4 separate regions of the Homo sapiens genome follow, and regions 2, 3 and 4 are each linked to region 1. Evidence: promoter capture Hi-C in 16 types of primary human blood cells and fetal thymus (Javierre and others, 2016). All regions are on one chromosome and are shown on one strand. The core of a region is centred on a gene start or on the middle of the fragment in contact, and the rest is flanking DNA. Distances in the headings are between cores, read along the strand shown. Region 1 holds the start of RPL38 (ribosomal protein L38). Region 2 holds the start of CD300LB (CD300 molecule like family member b). Region 3 has its middle 27 kb from the start of CD300A. Region 4 overlaps CD300A (CD300a molecule).

The links. The method cuts DNA at HindIII sites, captures the fragments that hold promoters and counts their contacts. A CHiCAGO score of 5 or more calls a contact.
Region 2: the fragment with the promoter of CD300LB here is called in contact with the fragment with the promoter of RPL38 in region 1 in 4 of 17 cell types (naive B cells, megakaryocytes, total B cells and 1 more); the score reaches 8.4 in naive B cells.
Region 3: a contact is called between a fragment that was not itself captured here and the fragment with the promoter of RPL38 in region 1, in 3 of 17 cell types (total CD4 T cells, total CD8 T cells and naive CD4 T cells). The highest score is 7.9, in total CD4 T cells.
Region 4: a fragment that was not itself captured here is called in contact with the fragment with the promoter of RPL38 in region 1 in 1 of 17 cell types (total CD4 T cells); the score reaches 5.5 in total CD4 T cells.

What each region holds. Positions count from the first base shown.
Region 1 is chr17:74,202,420-74,204,947 of GRCh38, reverse strand. RPL38 (ribosomal protein L38) reads right to left here and starts at 1,270. Exons shown (of 5, transcript NM_000999.4): 1 at 1,203-1,270; 2 at 990-1,030; 3 at 758-818. The coding sequence starts at 992. RefSeq lists enhancers at 1-17, 18-522, 1,531-2,034. The HindIII fragment of the contact is 15,941 bases long and covers 1-2,528 here.
Region 2 is chr17:74,530,213-74,532,740 of GRCh38, reverse strand. CD300LB (CD300 molecule like family member b) reads left to right here and starts at 1,266. Exons shown (of 4, transcript NM_174892.4): 1 at 1,266-1,430. The coding sequence starts at 1,391. LOC107985074 (a long non-coding RNA gene) reads right to left here. Exons shown (of 3, transcript XR_007065902.1): 2 at 100-194. The HindIII fragment of the contact is 3,995 bases long and covers 630-2,528 here.
Region 3 is chr17:74,492,426-74,494,953 of GRCh38, reverse strand. No RefSeq gene overlaps it. Among named protein-coding and RNA genes, the nearest start is that of CD300A, 27 kb to the right of the region's middle. The HindIII fragment of the contact is 6,311 bases long and covers 1-2,528 here.
Region 4 is chr17:74,476,065-74,478,592 of GRCh38, reverse strand. It overlaps CD300A (CD300a molecule), which reads right to left. Exons shown (of 7, transcript NM_007261.4): 4 at 1,063-1,157. Among named protein-coding and RNA genes, the nearest start is that of CD300A, 11 kb to the right of the region's middle. The HindIII fragment of the contact is 2,554 bases long and covers 1-2,527 here.

The sequences.
Region 1 (2,528 bases), core at 21-2,520:
TCTGGGAGGCGGAGGCAGGTGGATCATCTGAGGTTAGGAGTTCGAGACCAGCCTGGCCAACATGGTGAAACTCTGTCTCTACCAAAAACACAAAAATCAGCTAGGCATGGTGGCGCGCCCAGCTACTTTGAGGCAGGGGGATCGCTTGAACCTGGGAGGCGGTAATTGCAGTGAGCCAAGATCGCACCACTGCAATCCAGCCTGGGCGACAGAGCCAGACTGTCTCAAAGAAAAAAAAAAATTTTTTTAAATATTTTTCTGGATTAGATAGGTATGATACCTTCTGACACTGGCCAGCGACCACAGGATCACGAGGTAAACGACCATACTACACAGTGTGCCGTGCTCGATACATTACATGCAAATATCCAGCACTTTATTACAAAATGGATTTTGTGTTAAGATTTTGCACAACTGCAGAGAACCTAAACAGTGTTTATGGGACGTGTGTTTTGAGGCTTTCGCGGAGTGGAGATTCCGTTCCGACAATTTACTATATTATACGAAAGAAAACTGAACTCAGGGCGGCCTCTGAGATGATCGCGATTAGCTAAAGATGGTCCTAGAAATTCCAGGGCCTCAACGTGCCCCCCACAGGTCTTTCTCATGGGAAACAGGATGAAACCACTGCTCCCAGAGGGCCAGGCACACACCCAGACGGCCTAACCGTCTCCTGCCTGACATTCCGGGGAAGACGCTCCCGGAGCGGTGCCAGGCTAGGCACCGCTCTTCTTGAACCTTCGGAGCAACCACTTACATTTGGCATCCTTTCGTCGGGCTGTGAGCAGGAAGTCCTTGATTTCCTCAATTTTCCGAGGCTGCAACACAAAGGAAGCGGGTGAACAGAGAGGAAAGAGACACGTCTCCCGGCGATGGCCCAGTCCACCAGCTTCTCCCGGCCTCAGGAGATCCTTGGGAGGCTCTCTCGCCCTCGCCCCGGGGCCCCACGAGCCCACCCCGGGAAGGCGCCAGGCAGGGACTGTACTCACCATGGCGACGAGGCGCGCTGGGCTCTGGCGCGGACCAGGACCTGCGGGAAACAGTCCTCGGCGTTAACACGGCGCGGGGGCTGGCAGCGAACCCCGTTTTCCCGCTCTCCCCCGAAATATCGGCCCCATCGCACTCCCCTTCTCCTCCCCGACACCCTCCACGCGGACCTGGGGTCCCCAGATTTCACCTGGCAGTGGATTGCCCCAGATTACCTTTCTCACCCACGTATCACCCTAGAGACACTCACAGCAAGCAGCAACCGGGGAAAAGGACGAAAAAGAACGAGACTTCCGTTTCCGGGCAGTTAAACCCTCCCAACGGAGGAAACTGGGTACGGTGCCTGCCGAGGATCAAGACTCATGTAGGCGTTCGCACTTCCAATTTCAGCAGCCCTGCCCCCTTGTGGTCGAAGTCAACAGTGCAGCTCCAAGAATGGAATGGACCATCCTGGCTGCCGCCCTCCCTCCGCCTCCCTCCTCTCGCTCCTCCCCATCCCTTCCTCCTAGGACCCCCGCCTCTTCCCCGTCCACCCCTTCCTGTCTTCCCCCGCAACCCCTCAGACCCCAGCCTGGCTTTGCTAGGTTTTAGCTCAGATTCAGTTTGAAGAGCTAACGCTTATTCTCCACGGCTTTCATTGGACCTGCGCAGGGGCATCCACACAGAAAATTCTTCATTCAATGGCAGGGACCCTCGTGTGCACCTTGTAGAACCTGTTGTTCTGGCGCCTCACGTTTTCTTCCCGTCTCCTTTTTGGCACCTGAACCTGTCATGACCAGGGCCCTGGGCTCTTCTTTCCATAAGAGGGAGCGTTCCTGCTTGCTGCTTCCAATTCCCTTAGGAATTGGTGTACAATGAAAGCAAGTTAAGGCCGGGCGCGGTGGCTCACGCTTATAACCCCAGCACTGGGGGAGGCCGAGGCAGGCGGATCGCTTGAGGCCAGGAGTTCGAGAGCAGCCTGGGCAACCTAGTAAGACCTCCCCCCCCCCATCTCTAGCAATAATGATAATAATAATAATACTTCCAAAAGCTGTCGCAGCGCTGCCCCTGGCTAAGTGTCTCACCCCTAGGGCTGATGGTGAGTGGGAGTGCTCCTGCTCTTGCGGGGTCTCACCGCGGCCCCAGAGGGGAGAGGTGGACTCAGGAGTTGAACCCCTGCTGGGCAGATTCCCCAGCCCAGGCTCCGGCCACTTCCTGGGGAGGCTTGGGAAGCCTGGGGAGGGCAGCGTTCCTTTCTCCCCCTAACATCCTTTAGGTTAGACTCTGAGCAACCTGCGGTTATCGATTTTATTTTTATCCTCCATTTTTATTTTATCTCCAACCTCCCTACAAATGTCTACATTTTATTATATTTGTTTCCCCAAAATTTAATAACCACACGGCAGAATGTAATTGCTTCGTGCTTATTATTACAGAGCGGCCCTCCTGAAGGGAAAGAACACTTTGCCATGAGCTTTACTTAGAACTTATTTAACTTAACCTTCCTTTCTTCCTCCCTCCTGCCCTTCCATTAACAAGCTCAGGCTGAGCACCTTCCTGGG
Region 2 (2,528 bases), core at 17-2,516, 330 kb before region 1:
CCCGGCTGACGGATGCCCATTGACTTATTTTATTTTAAAATAGAGGCTAAGAGTGCCTCGGAATGATAGAAGAGATTTTAAGCTCACTCCCATACTTACCACTCCGATGAGTGTCGTACCTTGGATTCCCGGCCAATGCAACAAAATGGTATGGCTCTGATGACTGGAGGAACACTAGGGTCCTTGGTCTCCCACTGGTTTGAATAAAACAACATGGGCACACGTGGAGTGGTTTTAAGGAGTGGAGAATTTAATAGACAAGAAAGAAGGAAGGAAGAGGCTCCCCCTGTTCTGAGACTGAGGGAGGCGGGCTCCAAGCTGAAAGAGGGAACCTCGAGTACGGTGGAAAACAGCCAGTTATATGAGGAGGCTGGAGGAGGCGGTACCTGATTTGCATAGGGCCCAGGGGATTGGTTTGACCAGGTATGTCATTCAAGTAGCCCACGAAAAAACTAGCCTTCCTACCCTAGCCTTTTAATATGCAAATACAGGCGCCATGATGTTCTACACACATGGGTGTATGTAGGGGCGGCCATGTTGCCAGGAACGTGGGGAAAAGAAGAAGAGGCGGGAGTCTCCATGTTTGGGTGGACGCAGTTTCTAATGGCCTGTATTTGCATATCAAAGCTTGCCTGCCCAGCTCTAAGAGCCAGGGCTTTTCTTCTAGACAAGAAACATTTATGGAGCTGCTTTAAAAGAAAAAAAAATCTTCCCAAGCACCCCTTTTCCTATCTACCTAAAATAATTTCTTAATAACTCCTATAACAACAACAAACATTATGAGCCCAGTTAATAGATACAATAACTGAGGCACAGAGATGTTGATTGCATTGTCCACAGTCACGCAGCTTGTAGGTGGTGCTCGTGGGGTTAGAGCCAGGTCTGTCTGACCCAACAGTCTGCATGTTTATGCACTTGGCTATAACACCTGAACAAATGCATGTTCAGGTGTGCCCAGCATGACCCATCCGACATCTGAGTTGGGTGTTCACTGTGGTATAGAACAGCTCTGAAATTGACTCCCAGAGTGTTATACCCCTTGGACCCAAGGCCTGCTAGGCCAGACGCCCCCCACCCCACCCCTTCTGCAGACGTATCTCCCCCTACCCTAAAGACCCTGCACAGTCCCCTCCCTCCTCTTTTTTACATAGTGACGATGCTTAAGCCCTGTGGCGCAGCCCTGCCAAAAAATGACACCTCTTTCGTTTAATAATTAAAAGCAGGAACTACCCACTCTATAAAAGGAAGTGAATGAGTAAGAAAGTCAAAGGCGGTCTAGATGTGCAGAAGGTGCAAGCCAGAGCTCAGGCAGAACTTCCAGAGTGCATCTGGGATCTGCATTTGCCACTGGTTGCAGATCAGGCGGACGAGGAGCCGGGAAGGCAGAGCCATGTGGCTGCCCCCTGCTCTGCTCCTTCTCAGCCTCTCAGGTGAGTGGGGCTGGGGCCTTGGGCGCTTGGTATGACAGGGGCAGGGCAGGAGGCAGAGGGCATTTGTCCTTCCACATCCAGGGAAATGAGAGGTGGCTTTGTGAAGTCATTCGACAAAGGTGCACTGGGGACTGACATCGTGTGCTTCGGGGCCTGAGGACATCAAGAAAAAAGAGGAGGAGAACTGGCCATTAAAGAAGACTCCAGGCTTGAGGCCATGGCTCACACCTATAATCCTAACACTTTGGGAGGCCAAGGTGGGAGGATTGCTTGAGTCCAGGCGTTTAAGACCAGTTTGGGCAACATGGTGAGACCTCGTCTCTATATAAAATGAACAAAAATTAGCTGGGCGTGGTGACCGTGCCTGTAGTCCCAGCTACTTGGGAGGCTGAAGCTGGAGGATCCTTTGAGCTCAGGTATTCAATTCTGCAGAGTTATGATCGCACCACAGCACTCCAGCCTGGGTGATACAGTGGGACCTTGTCTCAAAAAAAAAATAAAGTAAAAAGACTCCAGATGGCTTAGTGGGTGAGACATACACATAAACAATGAGCAATTGCAGGACACAATAAGGCATTGGTGGAGGCGTGTGCGGAGGATGAAGCAGTTCTCTCTGGTGACTAGAGAAAGACTCACGAAGCTGTGCACTTGATGTGCCTTGTAGAAGGAAGGTCAGTCTCTGGAGCAGAGCTGAGAGGAGAACACTCTAGAGAGTTGGGTGTGTGTGTGTGTGTGTGTGTGTGTGTGTGTGTGTGTGTGTTGGGGGACCTGGGCAGAGAGATGGAGGCTTAGAAAGAATGGTGGATTCATGCAGAGGGAGCTGTCAGTGTGCAGGATGTCTTGGAGGTGGCGAGTTGGATATGAGGTTGGAAACACAAAAGACAAGATTATGAAGGCCATCCACGCCAGGCTCAGGAGCTGAGACTTTCAAAGAAAAAACTTCTCAAGAACCCAGGTGGAAAGTGGGAAGGGCTAGATGATCTTCTCCATGGCAAACCTTGGTGGACACCTAGAGGGCATTAGGGGACAATCTAGAATTTTACGCAGGGTGTGCAATGTGTGTGGGCCACACAGTTTTCTGCTGGTGCCTAGGGACTG
Region 3 (2,528 bases), core at 8-2,507, 290 kb before region 1:
GACCCGAGAACAGGAGCAAAGGAAAGAATCGACAGCAAAGAAATTTTGGACAATGAGGATGCAGGTCAGGGGTGCTTAGAAAGAGTCCCAGAGGTGACGAAACAGCATGAGGATGCCCAGGGAGAGAATGGCAGGGCCTTTTGTTAAGGGCTTGCATCAGCTGGGTGTAGTGGGTCACACTGCGGTCCCAGCCAGTCAGGAGGCTGAGGAGGGAGATTTGCTTGAGACCAGGAGGTTAAGCCCAACTGGGACCACATGGTGAGACCCTGTCTGTATAAATAAATAAGAGTGGCCAGGTGCGGTGGCTTACATCTGTAATCCCAGCACTTTGGGAGGCCCAGGTGAGTGAATCACCTGAGGTCAGGGGATTGAGACCAGCCTGGGCAACATGGCGAAACCCCATCTTTACTAAAATACAAAAATTAGCCAGGTGTGGTGGCAGGTGCCTGTAATCCCAGCTACTTGGGAGGCTGAGGCAGGAGAATCATTTGAACCCGGGAGGCAGAGGTTGCAGTGAGCCTAGATCGCACCACTGCACTCCAACCTCAGTGACTGAGACTCCCTCTCAAAATAGAAATAAATAAATAAGAGCTTGCTTCAGAGCCTGGTGAGGGTGAACGCACTGGAGGGGCACTGGACCATTGCTGGAACAAATGAAGAAACTGAGACCCAGATGGCCTTGAATGGCAGCCCCAGACCATGTAGGTCACAAGGGCAGAGGTGGGATTTAAGGCCTGTTCTATCTGACCCCAAACCCATGACACCAACCACAGGTGGGGTGGCTGCCCTTGCCTTTGACACACTGCAGTCGGGGTGGGAAAATCTAGGAATTGGGAAGGGACAATTGGATATGAAATAAAGAAACTCAAAGTTAGAGAGGAGTTGAGTTTTCTTGTTTTGTTTGTTTGTTTGTTTTTTGAGACAGAGTCTTGCTCTGTCACCTAGGCTGGGGTGCAATGGCGCGATCTTGGCTCACTGCAACCTCCGCCTCCCAGGTTCAAGCGATTCTCCTGCCTCAGCCTCCCAAGTAGCTGGGATTACAGGTGTCCGCCACCACACCCGGCTAATTTTTGTATTTTTAGTAGAGACGGGGTTTCGCCATGTTGGCCAGGCTGCTCTTGAACTCCTGACCTCAAGTGATCCGCCTGCCTTGGCCTCCCAAAATGCTGGGATAACAGACGTGAGCCACCGTGCCCGGCCAAGGAGTTGAGTTTTCTTTCGGCACAAAACATCCAAGGACTGGGCGTGCAGAGGGGCTGGAAAGCCATGCAGGAGTTTTCTGTCTGTTCCCCTGTTTCAAGCCCTCCCGCTTCTCAGCTGCATTGACCCAGAAAGTACAGAATTCCTTTGGCGTTGACAGACCAACCCCAACGAATTCAACAGGCTTGGGAATCCAGGCATGTGTGATTCCCCGCATGGCCACAGGGTGGAGATACGTGGCTATCAAATCTCTATGTTTGGTTCCCAGGCAGAGTCAGGTCTACAAACCAGGGCTGGTGTTTGCCCAAACAGTAAACTTTAAAAACAAAGAAACATAATTGTGAGGTCATTTTCTAAACTGTGGATAATTCAGCCCTGAGTCATCTTTCTAAAAGGCTTGGGCTAATTAGAAAATGTCTTTCACCTCCTTGGACCAATTGTGAACATATTGATGATTAACCTAACATTATTTAATCCTCCGAATATCTATCATGTTGGCATTGGACATGCCAAGTGAGGCGCTGTATTTTGAAGGTGAACTTGGATTGTAAAACAAAGACAAGGCACAACTACGGGAAGGCTTCACCAGCTACTTTCAGAAAACACCGGAGTGGCACCTTTGTGTACCCGGCACATGCAGACAAAGACAGTGTCAGCAACCTGTTCTCAGATGGTTCTGGGGAAAAACGCATAGATAGAAACAGAGTAACAAAAAAGTGGCAAATTAAAAAAAAAAAAGGGTAAATCTGGGAAAATGACATACGGGAGGTCTTTGTACCTTTTCCACAATTTTTCCTTAAGTTTGAAATTGTTTCAAAATACAAGGTTTTTTTTTTCATTGTTGTTGTTTTTAATGCTAAGATCCAGAATTCCTAGATTCAAGGTTCAGATATTATCACCCAATGGAGTGGCATTTGTCATTTCAAGTAGCCTCTCTGGCCCGTGGCTCTTCTGTAAAATAAAGAAGGTGGCCAGGCATGGTGGCTCATGCCTATAATCCCAGCACTTTGGGAGATCGAGGCAAGAGGATCACTTGAGGCCAGAAGTTCGAGACCAGCCTGGCCAACATGGCGAAACCCTGTCTCTACTAAAAGTACAAAAAAATTAGCCGGGCATGGTGGCATGTACCTGTAATCCCAGTTACTGGAGAGGCTGAGGCAGAAGAATCACTTGAACCTGGGAAGCAGAGATTGTAGTGAGCCAAGATTGCACCACTGGACTCCAGCCTGGGTGACAGAGCAAGACCCTGTCTCAAATAAAATAAAATGAAATAAAATAAAAAAAGGCAATCTGTTGTCACTGCTGCAAAGCATTCTGTTGTGTGAATA
Region 4 (2,528 bases), core at 1-2,500, 270 kb before region 1:
GATCTGCAATCTAGAGGACTGGTGGCCACACCTCCACTTGTTCCTCTGTTCCTGTGCTTATTCAATTTGCCTATCAGCTATTTATTGAGCATCTACTTACTGAGTGCCAAGAGTTCCTGTTCTCTCTTTTAATCTGAGCTCAGAGGAGGGCAGCTGGACTAGAGATTGCCTGGAGGCCCCTGGGGTGCCCGTTGCAGCTGGAGATACTGAATAACACATTAATTTGACAAATATTGGTTCTGTACCTCCTTGAAGCACATGCCTGTGGGAAGGCAGATGAGGACACCAGCAATGACAGTCTGGTTCCCAAAAGGCTGTGACAGCAGAGGTATAGCCAGGAGGGGCCCCAAGCCACTCTTTGGAGTCAAAGAAAAGGTCCCAGAGAAAAGAAAGTCTGAGGACCACTGTTGGAGTCCACTGGGAGTGAGCTGGGGAGAGGGGGCAGGGGAGGCCCTCCAGCCCAGAGCAAACCCAGAAGGAGAGGAGAGGCTGAGGTTGAGGCTGTCATTAAAGGAGATACAAGAAGTTGGTTTCCAGGGTGCGCGGATGGGGAGAGGGAGGTGGGTAGAGCCAGATCGTGGAGGGCAGTGACTCCTGTAGATACCTGGACTTTTTATGGTGGGGGAGACCATGCAAGGGTTTATTTTATCTTATAGACACGGGAGCCTTGTTGTGTTGCGCAGGCTGGTCTTGAATTCCTGGGATCAAGCAATCCTCCCATCTCAGCCTCCTGAGTAGCTGGAACTACAGATGCACACCACTGCACCCAGCACACCATGCCAGGGTTTTAAACAGAAGAGGGTCATTGCTTCATGGGGCAACCACCCTTGGCCTGGAAGTGGGAAAGCCTCCTGCTTGGGAGCCACCTCTCACAGCCTGTAACCACCACGCACAAGGATGCCTCCCATGGGACCTGCCCTGTAGGATCACCTAGGATGTGTGGTCTGGGTGTCACATGTCATAGCAATACTGTGGGACGTGGACATAGCTTTGAAGATGAGCGTCTGTGGTCAGGGTCTGACCACCCCAGGTGGGGCAGAGGGGTGTGGGGAGCCAACTCACCTTTGATCCATTTCTGAAACATCCTCCAGGCTAGCAGGGAGGCCCCCACCAACAGAAGCAGCAACAATGCCAGCAGGGAGAGGAGCAGCGGGAGCCTGGAGGAGGCACAGGATGGTAAGGGCGGGGCCAACTTGCCTTCTCCAACTTACTTTTTTATTTTTATTTTTTATTTTTATTTTTTGAGACAGGATCTGGCTCTGTTACCCAGGCTGGAGTGCAGTGGTGATCATGGCTCACTGCAGCCTTGAACCCCTGGGCTCAAGTGATCCTCCTGCCTCAGCCTCCAGCTACAGGCACAGGCCACCACGGCTAATTTTTAAATTTTTCGTAGAGACTCAATCTTGCTATATTGCCCAGGATGGTCTCAGACTCCTGAGCTCAAGCCACCCTCCTGCCTCAGCCTCCCAAAATGCTGGGATGACAGGCATGAGCCAATATACCTGGTCTCCTTCTCTAACTTTTTAAGTAGATAGATAAGGTCAATTAAAAAAAATAGACAGTATAAAGCCCCCTTTCTACACACCCCCCATTTACACATTCCCCAATTTCCCCACATACACACACGTGCTGTTCTTAAGAACCTTCCAGAGTTTCTTTATGTGTATACAAGCAAATACGAATGTACGGGATCTCCTTTCTCTTTCACACAAAGGAGGCCTCGTCTAACACTATTCTGGTTTTACTTAGCAATACATCTTAGAGGTCTTTCCACGTCAGTACATAAAGAAGTCCCTCACTCTTTCCTATAGCTGCAGGGTATTCCAACACATGGATAGACTGTGATTTATTTAAATGTTCCCACTGAATGGGCATTTCCCCAGTCCTTTGCAATGGTAAACGTTGCTTATAAATCGCCTTGCAGCTCCACCTTTTCACACCTGACCACGCAGCAGCAGATTGACCAGGAGGCTGATGCAGCCCAGCTTCAGGTCCCTCCATTGCTTGGGCCCTTTCCTTCATGCCTACGTTTGCATTCATAATTTTCTCATCTTTTTCTTAGATTACCCACCCACCAACCCACCCCGCAAACTGCACAACCTTCAGGCCCCACAGAACTCAGCGCTGCCACCTATGTGTATCTACAGGCTAAACTTCTGGAAGTGGCATGTTCAAGCCTGAATTTTGCCTTGTCTTATATGTTGGCAGAAGCCTGTGGAGGGGTTTATGGATGTTGTCCAGTAAAGAATCTGGCTGGCCTTTGTCCCTAGCTCTTAGGAGGGAGGCTCTAAATCCTTGGAATGTCCCAAAAATTAGGAGTGTCTTTGTTGTTCATGAATCACACCTGGACTTTGGTAAGAGATGAGACAATAGGATGGGGCTGGTCACCAGAAAGACCAACTACGTAATTAGAGATTTGGAGCCCTGAGCCAGCCCAACCTCCCAAAGAGGGACTGGAGGTGGAGACAGTTCAATCACATCATGCCTATGTAATGAAACCCCAATAAAAACTCTGGACACCAAAGCTT